2 separate regions of the Homo sapiens genome follow, and region 1 is linked to region 2. Evidence: promoter capture Hi-C in human tissues and cell types (Jung and others, 2019). All regions are on one chromosome and are shown on one strand. The core of a region is centred on a gene start or on the middle of the fragment in contact, and the rest is flanking DNA. Distances in the headings are between cores, read along the strand shown.

Region 1 (5,924 bases), core at 2,068-4,567, 1.4 Mb before region 2:
TTAGACAGCGTATTTCTAACCTCCTTCCTTATTGTGTTTTCTTCTACCACGTCATTTTAATGAGTGCATGGAAATATACTTGTAATTTCAACATCGTCCTGTAGCTGGACACAGCAGTTGTGTCTGACTGTGATGAATGTCTGCATACTAAATGTGGAGCTGCTTGCAAGACTTTGACCTTGGGAATATTATTTTATCTGAGCCTTGGTTCTTCATCTGTAAATTGGGCATAACAATAGTTTCTATCTCACAGATTTACAGTGGGGATTAGATTCTATGAATGCGTATAAAGTTCTTAACACACGATTAGTCACTAATTCCGATTATAGTAAATAAATATTGGTAATATTTCTGTTATTACAAAGATTTCTATTAGTGGTAAACCAGTTCCGGTGTTTGAGAGTTCTTCTTTGACTACAATGTCACCCGCACCGAGGTTTGTATTTTTTCAGTGCTTGGCTTTGCTCTCCCTCTGAGCCTTAACGCTGTCCTCTGGCCTCTCTTTTCCTCACAGGTCCTGTTCTCGAACATCGAAGACATCCTGGAAGTTCATAAGGATTTCTTGGCCGCCTTGGAGTATTGTTTACACCCGGAGCCGCAGTCTCAGCATGAACTTGGGAATGTTTTCTTAAAATTCGTGAGTACCATGCCACTGCCCCTGGTGGACTCTAGTTTTTGAAAAGTGGGCTTCTCCCTGGGTCCCTGCCCCATCCGCCTTCACCAGCTTCCTCTGTAGGCCTGTCTGGGAGATGGGGTAGCAAGGTGGGCAGGTGGGCCCAGTCTGCATCCCTGGAACTATGGGAAGTAGGTCAGGCCCAGCAGGCTGTGGGCATTTTTAGTGACTCTCCTTTCCCTCAGCTCCACATAGAGGGTGGGCCCTCACTGAATGCATGTGTCCTGGAGTCCTGCGACCTCCTGGCCTGGCGGGGCCCCTCTGCCACAGTGACCATCAGAGGTAGCTAGTGGCCAAGAAGAGATGGACTTGGCATCAGACAGACCTGGGTTTGAGTCCCGGCTCAGGCACCCACTGGACAGTAAGGGTGTCTGATCCTGGGGTGCCCCGTTGGGCTGTTGGTCAGAGAGGCTGACGCTTGTTGCAATAGCCTCTCTCTTCCTGCAAGATTACTAACGCATTTGGAATTGTGGGTGGTAGGCTGGAAGAAGGAAGGCAACTGCTTTTCCATACCCTCTTTTTCTGTACTACCTGGGACCCCCCTCACAGACAGAAGAACCCAAGCTAGCCTCACGGGCACGAGATGTGAGCCAAACTCCTTTGCCTCTCTGAGCCTCTATTTCCTCCTGTAATTGCAAAGTAGGGACAATTCCGTATACCTCCTAAGGTTGATGGCCAGACTCAGAGGTAAAGCAATCGGGTAGAGAGTCTAGAGCAGAGCTTCTCAGCTGGGGTGATTCTGGCCCCCAGGGGACAATGGGCAATGTCCAGACACATTTTTGGTTGTCCTAGCTCTAGAGTGCTACTGGTTTCTAGTAAGTAGAGGCCAGGGATGCCACCAAACATCCTATAATGCACATGACAGCCCCGACAACAGAGAATCATCTGACCTCAAATGTCAGTGGTGCCAAGGTGGAGAAACTTTGGTGTATCAGCACTCGGCCACTGTTAACTCATCATCATCATCATCATCATCATCATCATCATCATCATCATCACTAACTCACTTCTCCAAGGGATCACATCTGAGTGGCTAGAGCCTAAGATGATGGAGCTGTGTGACTTTGCCCTCAGAGGGCAATGGGGGGCAAGTCTCATGTGCGATCAGGCGTGCAGACTACCCCAAGATGCAGTCATTCAGCCAAGGGCCAGCCACTCTCTACGTGAAAGTGAGGGCAAGGAGAGCTTCTGGCCAGGCTGCTGAGCCACTCATGAACTGTGGTCCTCTCAGCAAGTTGACTGATCTTGTCTGTGCCTCATTGTCCTTTTACCCATAAACGGGATAAATCCAGGACATTGTGAGGATTAAGCAAGATAATACAAGGAGCCTGCTCAGTGCAGCTCCTGGCACAGTAAGTGCTCAATAAATGTCGACGTTATCTTCCTATTCACATAGCGGACGCTCCTCCATCTTTGGAATTGGACAAATAAGAGCACAATGGGGCGCAGGTGGGCTGGGTGCTAGCGGAGGGCATTGAGCAGAGGAGGGAAGTGGTCCACAGGCCCTTTGGCTGCTGTGAGGGGGAGTAGCTGTGGAGGGAGAACTGGAAGCCGGGAGACATCTAAGAGGTTACCCCACCAAGTGAGATGACGGTGCCTCGGACCAGCATGGTAGCAGTGGAGATGGTGAGAAGGGGCAAGTGGCCACAGTGTGCAGTAAAGGTGTTTGAATAGGAAAATGAAAAGGATGGGAGGGACAGTCTTTCCTTTGGGTTCAGAGGAGACAGGAAGTGCTTTTTCTCTGGAGCCAACAGCCAACGTTCAAATCCCTGTTCTACTGCTCGCCAGCCCAGTGACCTTGGGCAAGTCCTTTCACCTCTCAGGGCCTCAGTCTCCAACTCTGTAAAGTGGGGGTAACGACAATTCCTGCTGCAGGGGGCTGTCATGAGGATGAATGACCTGGCTCAGCACCAAGCTAATGCCGCGTGTCAGCTGTGAGTGTTACTCCGGCCTGCTTCCTGGAGGGGGTGGGCTTGGGGTTGGCTGTGATGTCATGATCCGAGCTTGCTTAGGATTGCCTATACTTAGCAAAAGTGGGAGAAAGGGTCCTCAAGGTGCACTGTCCAGTTTGCCAAAAGCCCTGGCCCCCCTCATTCCTTTGGCTTCTCTGTCTGAGCCCCAGAGGCTGTGGGGAAGTGGGTTTAACTCGCTTGTCAGTGAGGAGCCCTGGACCCTGAGGACACAGCGGGGCTATTCTCACCTCTCTCTTTCTGCAGGATTCCTGACTTGCTCAGAGATGCAGCGGAGGGCTGGGGGGCTGGGGACGGGGAGTTCAGTGTGCATGAAGCAACCTCTTTTCCGTGTCCTCTCTTCTGCTACCTGGGACCCTCCTCATGTAGCCTCATCAAACTAGGCACCTGGTGAAGGCTGCACTTACCATCAGAGTCATGACGTGTGGAGGGTGGATGTTTAGGCCTTTGTGGGAAGTTGTTCTGTGCTGGGGCCTTCCTGGCATCCTCCCTGGGCCTGGGAGATCAAGCATTTTAGAGCCCAGCTGCTCGACTTTGCATCCTAGCTCTGCTACTTCCTTGCTCTGGGATCCTGGGAGAATGACCTTACCTCTCTGTGCCTCAGTTTTCTCATCTGTAAAGTGGGTATCACAAAACTCACCTTCTAGGGTGGTTGAGAGAATGAATGACGTTGGTAGAACCTGGCACATAATAAGTGCTCAGGAATTGTTTCTCACTTGGGTAATGTGCGCATCTGTTCACGTGATCCAGCGCTTTCTGGCACCTCCCAGGCTTCTCTGGAGTGTGACTTTGTGCAGGGTGCCCAGACCTGGGATCACTGAGCCCCATTCCAGGCGATCTATCATGAGCCCCCCTGCACCTCAGCAGGGCTCCCGTCCTTCCAGCCTCACAAAGCTGCTGTGATGCCCGGGCACAAGGATGAATGTCGGAGGCTTTGACAGAGATGAAGTATTTTGGAGATTGGTTCTCCCCTGAGCCAACAGAGAGACCTGCTGGAAACATCAATCAGATCTCTTCAACCCCTCTCCCAGCACCCTCCAAAGGTTCCTGCCTCATTGGAATAAAATCCCCACAGCCCGCCAGGCCCTGTTCATTCCTCGGAACTTGCTCCCCTGGCTCTAGCCACACGGATCTCCTCGCTGTTCCAGAACATGGCAAGCCCATTCTCACCCCAGGCCGCTTCCTCTGCTGGACCAGTTCCCTCAGACATCCCTGCGGCTCTCTCCCTTCTTGCCTTGAAAGCTTTTTGGAAATGCCATCTTCTCCGCAAAGGCCTCCATGCCCTCCTGTTTAAGTTGCTGCACTCCTGCCCTTCCGCGCCCCTCCCCTACTCTGTCATTCTCAACAGAACAGTCCGCATCACCCTTTGACACATCGGATCTTTTGCCCCTTTTTGCTTATTGTCTGTCTCTCCCTAGAATATAAACAACATGAGGACAGGGACTCTGTCATGTTCACTGCTCTGTCTCTGCATCAGAAATAGTTCAGCCCCTTAGCCGGGCATGGTAATGTGCACCTGTAGTTCTAGGTACTTGAGAGGCTGAGGTGGGAGGATTGCTTGAGCCCAAGAGGTTGAGGCTGCAGTGAGTTGAGATCATGCCGCTGCACTCCAGCCTGGGTGACAGGGTGAGACATTGTCTGAAAACAAACAAAACAAAACAAAAAATAAAATAAAAAAAAAATCGAGCCCCAAGCTCACTTGCCCTCTGGACATGCAAGCAAACTGAGAGAAAGGTTAAGCTCAAGGTCACGACTGTGCCAGCCGCAGAAGTGGGCTTTAGGCCATCCTAAGGGCTAAGCCAGTGTTCTTCAGTTCAGCTCACACGCTAAGTTTGTAATTTTTGCTATATCTGAGTATTCTTTGTATTATTATTTGTTTAATGCTTTAAAAAATTGATTCACTTATCGTTTGAACCCGGGAGGCAGAGGTTGCAGTGAGTCGAGATTGTGCCACTGCACACCAGCCCCTGCAACAGTGTGAGACTCCGTCTCAAAAAAAAAAAAAATTGATTCACTTAACAAAACTTCAGTGAACTTATTTAAAAAGAGAAATTTGCATCATCATTGAAAATAGAAAATGAGTGCTATAAATAGAAGGTAATTGTCAAAATAAATGCAGTAGAAACCAAACGGTATTACCGCATTCTATCTAGAAACTCTTAACTACTTGAGCCTTTCAGCCTGAGGCTGCTTACATCACACCAGCTAAGACCCTCCTTGAGCTAACTGGACCTATTGAAAAAGGAGCCAGCGTTCTCAGTGTGTGATACAGTGTTTTTTAATTTAAAATCATCTTTTTAATTAAAAATTAAAATTATCACGCCTCTTCCTGCCTGCTCACGGAGGATAGGTTGAGTCAGTCTGTCTCAGGAGTTTTAAAGGCCACACCTCTGTAGGTTGGGTTTCTGGAAGCTGGCGATTTGCACACAGGTGGGCCCTTGGAAGCAGCTAAAGGAGAGGTTGCAGAGGCTCCACCCCAGCCACTGATAGTCCCATCTGGAAGGAACTCTGGAACTAGGATAGCTCTTCAGATTATGCACAATTGCAGCAAGTGGGCAAGGCCTTTGCACCCTTGTTGCCCAGTGGGCTGTCCTCAGGAGTGGGTGTACCGCCTCAGACAGGTGGCCCTCTTAGGCTGAAGGCAGCTCTAGGAGAGGGCCTTAGCTGAGGGTCATTGTCAGCCAGCACTCCCAGCACCTGGGGTAAGGGGTGTCTCTGTCTCTGTGACAGGCATTTGAGGAGTGCACCATGGCATCCACTGCAGCCCCAAAGGAAAGAGGTGCTGGGTCCACTCTCCTTCCCAGGCTTGTTTACTCCATTTACTCCCTGCTTGGAAACATTTTCCCATGGCCATGGCAGCATCTGGGCTGGTGAGATGCTAATCGGGAACAGAGCTCTTGCAGACAGGCTCTCCAGGAGAGGAAGGGGCCCTGGCCCACAGTCCAGCCCGCTAGTGTCACCTAACTGATCAGATGGGGGAAGAGTCCCTCACCCCCTTTCCCCAAAACCCAACCACTAACTACTGAGTTTATCATAAACTAGCACCGAGTGGACATTTTCTTTGTGCTGGGTTCTGTTCTCTGTGCCTTACAGATATGCATTCATTAAAACTTCACAACACTCTTTAAAGGTGGTTACTATTATTGTACCCATTTTACAGATGAGGAAACCAAGGCCCAGAGAGATTAAGTTATAGGGCAAGCTTACAGAGCTAGGAAGCATCAGAGCCAGGATTTGAGCTGACACAGTCAGGCTGTAGAGTCTGTGTTTTTTACTCTTAT
Region 2 (5,946 bases), core at 405-2,904:
GCTGGGGACATTTTACGGTCCTTTTCTATCTCTGGGTACAGACCAACTGCGAAGGCAGCTTTAGGGAGGAGACCAGCAAAGACCTCCTAACGCAATTGAAGTGGGTAGAATTGTAAGCAGCTCTGAACAACCAGTTAATATTTTACTGGGGAGCGGTGCCAGAGATGGGGGGGTGGGGGGGCTGCCAAATGGAGGGCTGTGTGTGAAATCGCTGCTCCATCTGCCTTGGGGGACGAAAAGAAGCCGTTCTCTGTGCAAATAAATGGAAGCAAGAATCCTTAGGAAGCCCAGGGGATTTGTCTGCCCACCGAGGAGGGCCCAACTCCCCCAGGCACACACATACAGGGATGATTGTGGCAGGAAGGGCTGACCTACGGGGGTAGGCCTGACGCATAATGGGGGCTCTTGTTTCCGGGCTGAGCGTGCCATCTTTCTGTCTCCCTCTGGATTGAAATGGCTTCTCAGCCCGAGAGGCACTGCCTGTGCCCTGGATTCACAAGGTACACGCCTCCCTGGGAAGCAAAGGCTGAGAGACAGCGGCTCTCTCTCTCTCTTTCTGCATCTGCCGGGAGAGCTGCAGCTGGTATTTTTCCACAGGCCTTCGCTGCGATCTCAAGGCCTAGTTTTTCCCAGCCAGGCCCCGAGTCCGAGAGAGGGTTAACAGGCAGGAAGCCGAAGGCATCGCAGGCTAATACGGAAGTCAGATTTGTGTTTAACTGACAGGTTTAGCAGGTCTCGGCCGCGGGGGAGGGGCCGGGAGGGAAGGGAAGTTTGTAGATCCAGGCATGTGGCCTGCGAGGAGGGCTTTGGGTTTTTCTTAGGGTAAGGACCGAGAGGGGTCCCCCTTGGCATCGTGGCAGGGCGACAGGAACCCACGTTGATTTTGCCTGCAGGACTGGCTAAGCAGGGCGCGAGAGGCCCACGGCTCCCTGGCCTGCCTTGCAAGGAGGCATGGGGACAATGACTATGCAAACTTGACCACTCTGCTCCCCTCCTCCCCTCAGCAGCTACTCCTCGCTCCTCTGAGAAGCCAGGGCTGCTCTCTGCTGATTTTTCGGGGCTCCCCCGGGCTGCCTGCTTCCCCCAGCTTCTCAGAGGCCTGCCTCAAGCCCCTTTTTCTGGCCCCTTGGCTGTTTCCCCGGGACTCCCCACTCCCCAGCTTCCCCTTCCCCTTGGAGAGCCACCCTGCTGGACTGTTCTAGAAAAAGGCTGGCCTTCCTCCCTGGACAAGGGCCGTTTCTCTGGGGGCAGGTGAGGGTGAGCCGTTCCAGCCCACTCCAAGAAACTCCCTTCCCAGGGACCTCCGGGCCTCAGGCTTTCCTGGAGCAGGTCAGGCTGGCTGCCCTGGCTGGCCCGTGCCGGGAAATCTAGCCAGGGTGCAGGAGAAGTGCGTGTGGGGGCCCCTTTCCCAAGTTTTTCTTGCTGCAAAAGGCCTAGCTTAGCCTGTCTTTTTCTATGCACAGGATGGCTCTTGCTCACCCGAGCCTCACAAAGATAATCGCTCAGGAAGTGTTTCAGCCAATCCGGGGCGGCTTTACACTCCGATTTGCCGGGGCAGCCAATCGGGGATGAGCTTTTATTAGGCGGCCAGATCATCAGCCGAAGTGCCAAACCCTTTTTCTGTGAGAACTAGGAGCCTGTCCTCCATGTTTTATAAGTATTGACATTACACAGTGTTAACAATGCATCCACAGAGGTAAGCTCGACTTTTTAACCATCTTTTTTCCCCCTCCCTCTGAGACATCCGAATTGTGGGCGAGCAGTGTGATTTCTCTGTGGCTGGCCGTGCCACACTCACCCCCAGAGCACTTATGTTAACTTGGAACTGTTTAGAGAGAATTTTTTTGCTTTCTTGGGTCACATGGCTCAGTAGCCATTAGCCATAGCTTGATTTTGCAAACTGGCAAGGGCCTGGCACACCTTTCCTTCCACCAGGGCATGGTGTTTCTGGAAGAGTTTGAAGCTAGATCCTGGTATGCCAAAAAAGAAGCTTTTTTTTTTCCTTCTTTTTTTTTTTTTCTTTCCCTCTTCCCTCTCTCTTCCCCTCTCTCTCTCTCTGAGCAGTTCCCCCCCTCCCACCCCTGCACTATTGTCTTCTCTTTTGCCACATGCCCTGCTGGGGGAAGAAAATGGAAGGTAAGCAAACAGGCTCCTCTCCAAGGAGAGCTCATGGCAGACAGCAGAGCAGGCAAGTTTGCCTCTCCAAAGAGGTTCTGGGAAGGCTGGATAAGTTTTGACAAGAGAGGAGCGTGTTTGCAAAAGAATTGTGCCCTCAGCAGAGCAGTGCTAAGGAGAGTCTAGCTCCTGGGGCCTAGGTGGGTGGTGGTGTCTGTACACGGTCTTCTCTTATTCTACAGAGCTTCTGCACTTGAAACTACATTGTTCAGCCTGTTTTCCTGACTTAGGTTGCTACAGAGTGTTCTGCAAGCCAGCCTACAGCCAGCAAATGTTTCTGAAAGTGTTTTCTAGGCTTTGGAGGAAGTTTTTTGGAGTAGGGATGGGGACTGGGGGGTGGGGGGAGAGATCTTGGACAACATCCTGCAAAAAAAAAAAAAAAAAAAAATCTGCAAGGATTCTGAATCCCTTAGCTTTCTACTCTTGCATGATTTTCAAGGAACTAATGTTACCTTTTATCCTTGTTTTCATTTTCCTGTCCCTTTTATACATTGTATCCTCCTCTCTTCTCCTGTGTCATGGAGTGTAGAGGAAATAAAATCATGTCTGTGGCTCATGACAGCATTCCATATTCAGTTGTTGGGTTGTGTTGTTGTTGTTGTGTGTGTTTTTAATAATACCATGTAACTGTTTAAAAAAATTTCCTTTTTGATCAAGTCCCAAATCTGCCAGCCTGTTCTCTCTTCCTAACTGTGGAAAAATGAGACGGTTGCTTGAACATTTGTTGGGTAAGTAAAGCAATCCATTTCCTCTGTGACCATGTTTGAAGAGTTTTGCGAACATTTGGGGTCTGTTTGTAATAGTGGGTCTTGGCTACAGGAGTTGGGGGCTTCATTAGCAGGAACAAAATAAGGGCTTTTTAAAGAGTGTCTTGATTTTAGGTGACTGTTTGAATCCACTGTTTTTCCTGATAACCTGCAGCTAGGATTGAAGATTATACTTCCTGTTTACCCTGAGTCAGGGGAGAAATGTTCAGTTCATTGTGACTTGACTCTAGACCTTTAATGGGGTTTGTTTGGATATTCAAACTGTGAGTAGGTGATGTGCTTGTGAAATGTCATGAAACTGCTTGTTCTTAGAGGTGCAGAGCCCTAAAAACATTGGTGGTGTAGAAGCTGGTGGTGGTGGTGGTATGTGTGTGTTGGGGGGGTGGTGTCAGTGTGCTCATGTTTTAGGACTTATGTATAGTGCAAAATCTCATCTACCACCAGACTGGGTTTGATTCAGGACTCACTGACCAACACATTTTGGCCTTTTTTCAGGTCTCCTCCACACATCTGTATGCATGCTGGCCCCACATAAGATTTCTCACTTTTTACATTTCCCTTGACCACTTAAGGCTGCAGCTAGAAGTTAAGTGGGAAAAGTAGAGTCTTGTTTAGCAGTACCTTCAGAATTTCCCTAGAAGTTCAGTACATAAATTTTCAGCTTGGAGACCAATCCGACATGACCGTAAATGCAGGAAATATATTCAATTGCTGTGTTATGTCAACTTTATGGAGTCAGTAATCTTTTTTCTTTCAAATGAGTGTCCAGTAGCCCACTTTCTGACACCGAATTGGAAAAAGGCTCATTTAATCAGCAGAAACGTACCACATTCTAAGTTGAGAAAAGTCTGTGCAAGGCAGGCCAGCTTAGCTTCTTAGAGTAAAACTGCAGGCAGTTAATGATGTTATATACTTAAAACTGAACAGTGCCACTGCCCCAAACAAGTAAGTTCAGACACTCAGCTATTTTCTTTGTTCTTATCTCCTTGCTGTAAATGGAAATTACATATCGAGGTTCTTGTGGCCTCCCTAGAAGCAATATCTAATCATAAGACTCCTGGTTTGGTGCCTTCAACGTTTGCATAATACTGTGTTTGTTGGGCTGGAAGGGAACTTAAGGGCAAGGCATTTGTCCTCTAAAAGCTTGCATTAAAATGGCTCCCACAGGTTTGGAGAGCCAAGATCTGTTTTCAAATGTACAGCCCCCAGCAAGTTCCCAACCCTGGACCAAGCTAGCCACTTTTCCTCTGGTACTGTGACCCCTACCAAGCATGAGTCTGTAAAAAGTTAATTGCTTTCAAAGTAGCATTATTTTCCAGTTTCAGGAAAGGGGGAAAAAAATAAATGTCTGCATTGCAGCAGGACTAGGTAGGGACGGCAGTACTGGCTCCCAGAGCAGCCCAATGGGGTTCTTCTACTCTAGCTTTTAAACCAATAGACTTGGAGGAAAGGTTAAAGATTGACAATTGCAGTGGCCGAACTAAGAACGGGCCTTCTGGAAATTTCTACCATCTTTGTTCCTTTTAGGAAAAGCAGATCTGCCAAGCAGAAGCGTCTCCTACCTTCCATTCCTAGGTCATCTCCCTTCCCTGCTTCCCCCCAACCCCCCTTCTTTTTCTCATCAAGGTAGAATGTTCTCTCTGCCACGTTTGTAAATTGCAGAAGGAGGAACAGAATGTTGGGCTGTTTTCCTTTTTCCTTCTGCCTCCTCAGTCCCCAAAGAGGATACACAGCTGCAAGGAGCAAACACAGACACACTGAAGCTTTTGATTCCTCTCCTTTTTTTTCCTTCAAGACCCTCCAGGATGGATTCACTTTCTGCTTTGGGAAATTAAGTGGCATTCACGTGGGGGAGGGGGAGTAACTGCTTTTATTAGCTCCAGAAAATGGTCAGTGTTCAGTCTGTAACTAGGAATTAATTATATATAATCACTCAGTAAACTTTCTACAGAGTTTTTCTAATTGCTGAGCCTGATCATAGTTAGCCCGTTGGCGCCAAGTCCAGTTACTTTTATAATTAACAGCTCAAAGATTTGAGTCAGAAAGAAACAATTGGGGGCCTCTTGGATTATAAATTAGGGATGAAAACAATAGCTTTTTTTCCTTTCTTTCTTGTCATCCCTTTTATTTTCAACAAAACATTTCCCCTTTTCTTTCCCTGGGAGAACCAGTGGGGAGACTGCATCAGGTCTTAAATAGGATGAGGGGGGAGACACTTTTTAGGAAGTGGGGTGACAGTAACCTAGAAAACCCTGGAGGCAAAGGTAGGTTTTTAAAAGTCCAGCCACTTGCAACGCGTGATGTCTTTGTTTCTTTTGCCCTCTTTCCCCTTCTCTCTCCTGTGGCAGAGGCAGCAGACATTTGTCAGCCTGGGAACCCTCAATCTGGCTTTGCCTCTGGTTGACTCTGGAAAGAAAGATACATTCAAAGGGGCCTTCGCTACTGCACAGCAGAGATTTAAAAAGGGAATATGTTTCAGAACCCTTTGGTTACTCTTAAAATGCAAGATCTGAGCAAGGGTTCACCCTTGGCTTCAGGTTGCTAAGGTTATGGTCACCCTCCCCGCTACTTCCCACTCTCCTTGCAGACAAACAAACAGGCAGTGGCCATGCCAGCTCTGCAGCCAGTGTGCTGCCAGCCTGTCCCCCCCATCCCGATTACCTTACCTACCGGCCGGCGGGGGCCAGTGGCCCGTCCTTGCCCTGGCATGGCCTTGGGCACTGTGCCCTCCTTTCTCCCCTGGAGCTAAAAAGCAGTCACCTTGAAACTCCTCACTCCCAGCACCAGAGGAGTTCTGAGGCCAATGCTCAGACCTGTAACAGTAAATGACGTTATCCACTCAGGCTGTTAGTTCGGCCTCTGAAAGCGGGTTTTGCAAAACCCATTGTTAATTCTCAGGCTCTGTTGGGGGTGGTCAGAAATCTAATTTGTGAGTATCCTGTGCATTGGATAAGGGAATGTTTTCCTTGTGTTTCTCCTCTGCAGACTCGGATTGTCTTTCCTT

The links. Contacts are between HindIII fragments. The study calls those that stand out against the background at their distance.
Region 1: a contact is called between a fragment that was not itself captured here and the fragment with the promoter of ZMYND8 in region 2, in 1 of the 25 tissues and cell types used here (spleen).

The regions. Positions count from the first base shown.
Region 1 is chr20:48,739,738-48,745,661 of GRCh38, reverse strand. It overlaps PREX1 (phosphatidylinositol-3,4,5-trisphosphate dependent Rac exchange factor 1), which reads left to right. Exons shown (of 40, transcript NM_020820.4): 3 at 515-637. Among named protein-coding and RNA genes, the nearest start is that of PREX1, 85 kb to the left of the region's middle. RefSeq lists an enhancer at 4,961-5,070. The HindIII fragment of the contact is 5,679 bases long and covers 478-5,924 here.
Region 2 is chr20:47,352,407-47,358,352 of GRCh38, reverse strand. It overlaps ZMYND8 (zinc finger MYND-type containing 8), which reads left to right and starts at 1,654. Exons shown (of 23, transcript NM_001281775.3): 1 at 1,654-1,696. The coding sequence starts at 1,683. LOC101927377 (a long non-coding RNA gene) reads right to left here and starts at 5,792. Exons shown (of 2, transcript NR_134501.1): 1 at 5,613-5,792; 2 at 3,720-5,348. RefSeq lists enhancers at 9-614, 294-643, 1,394-1,688, 1,223-1,830, 1,674-1,843 and 4 more. The HindIII fragment of the contact is 5,862 bases long and covers 1-3,038 here.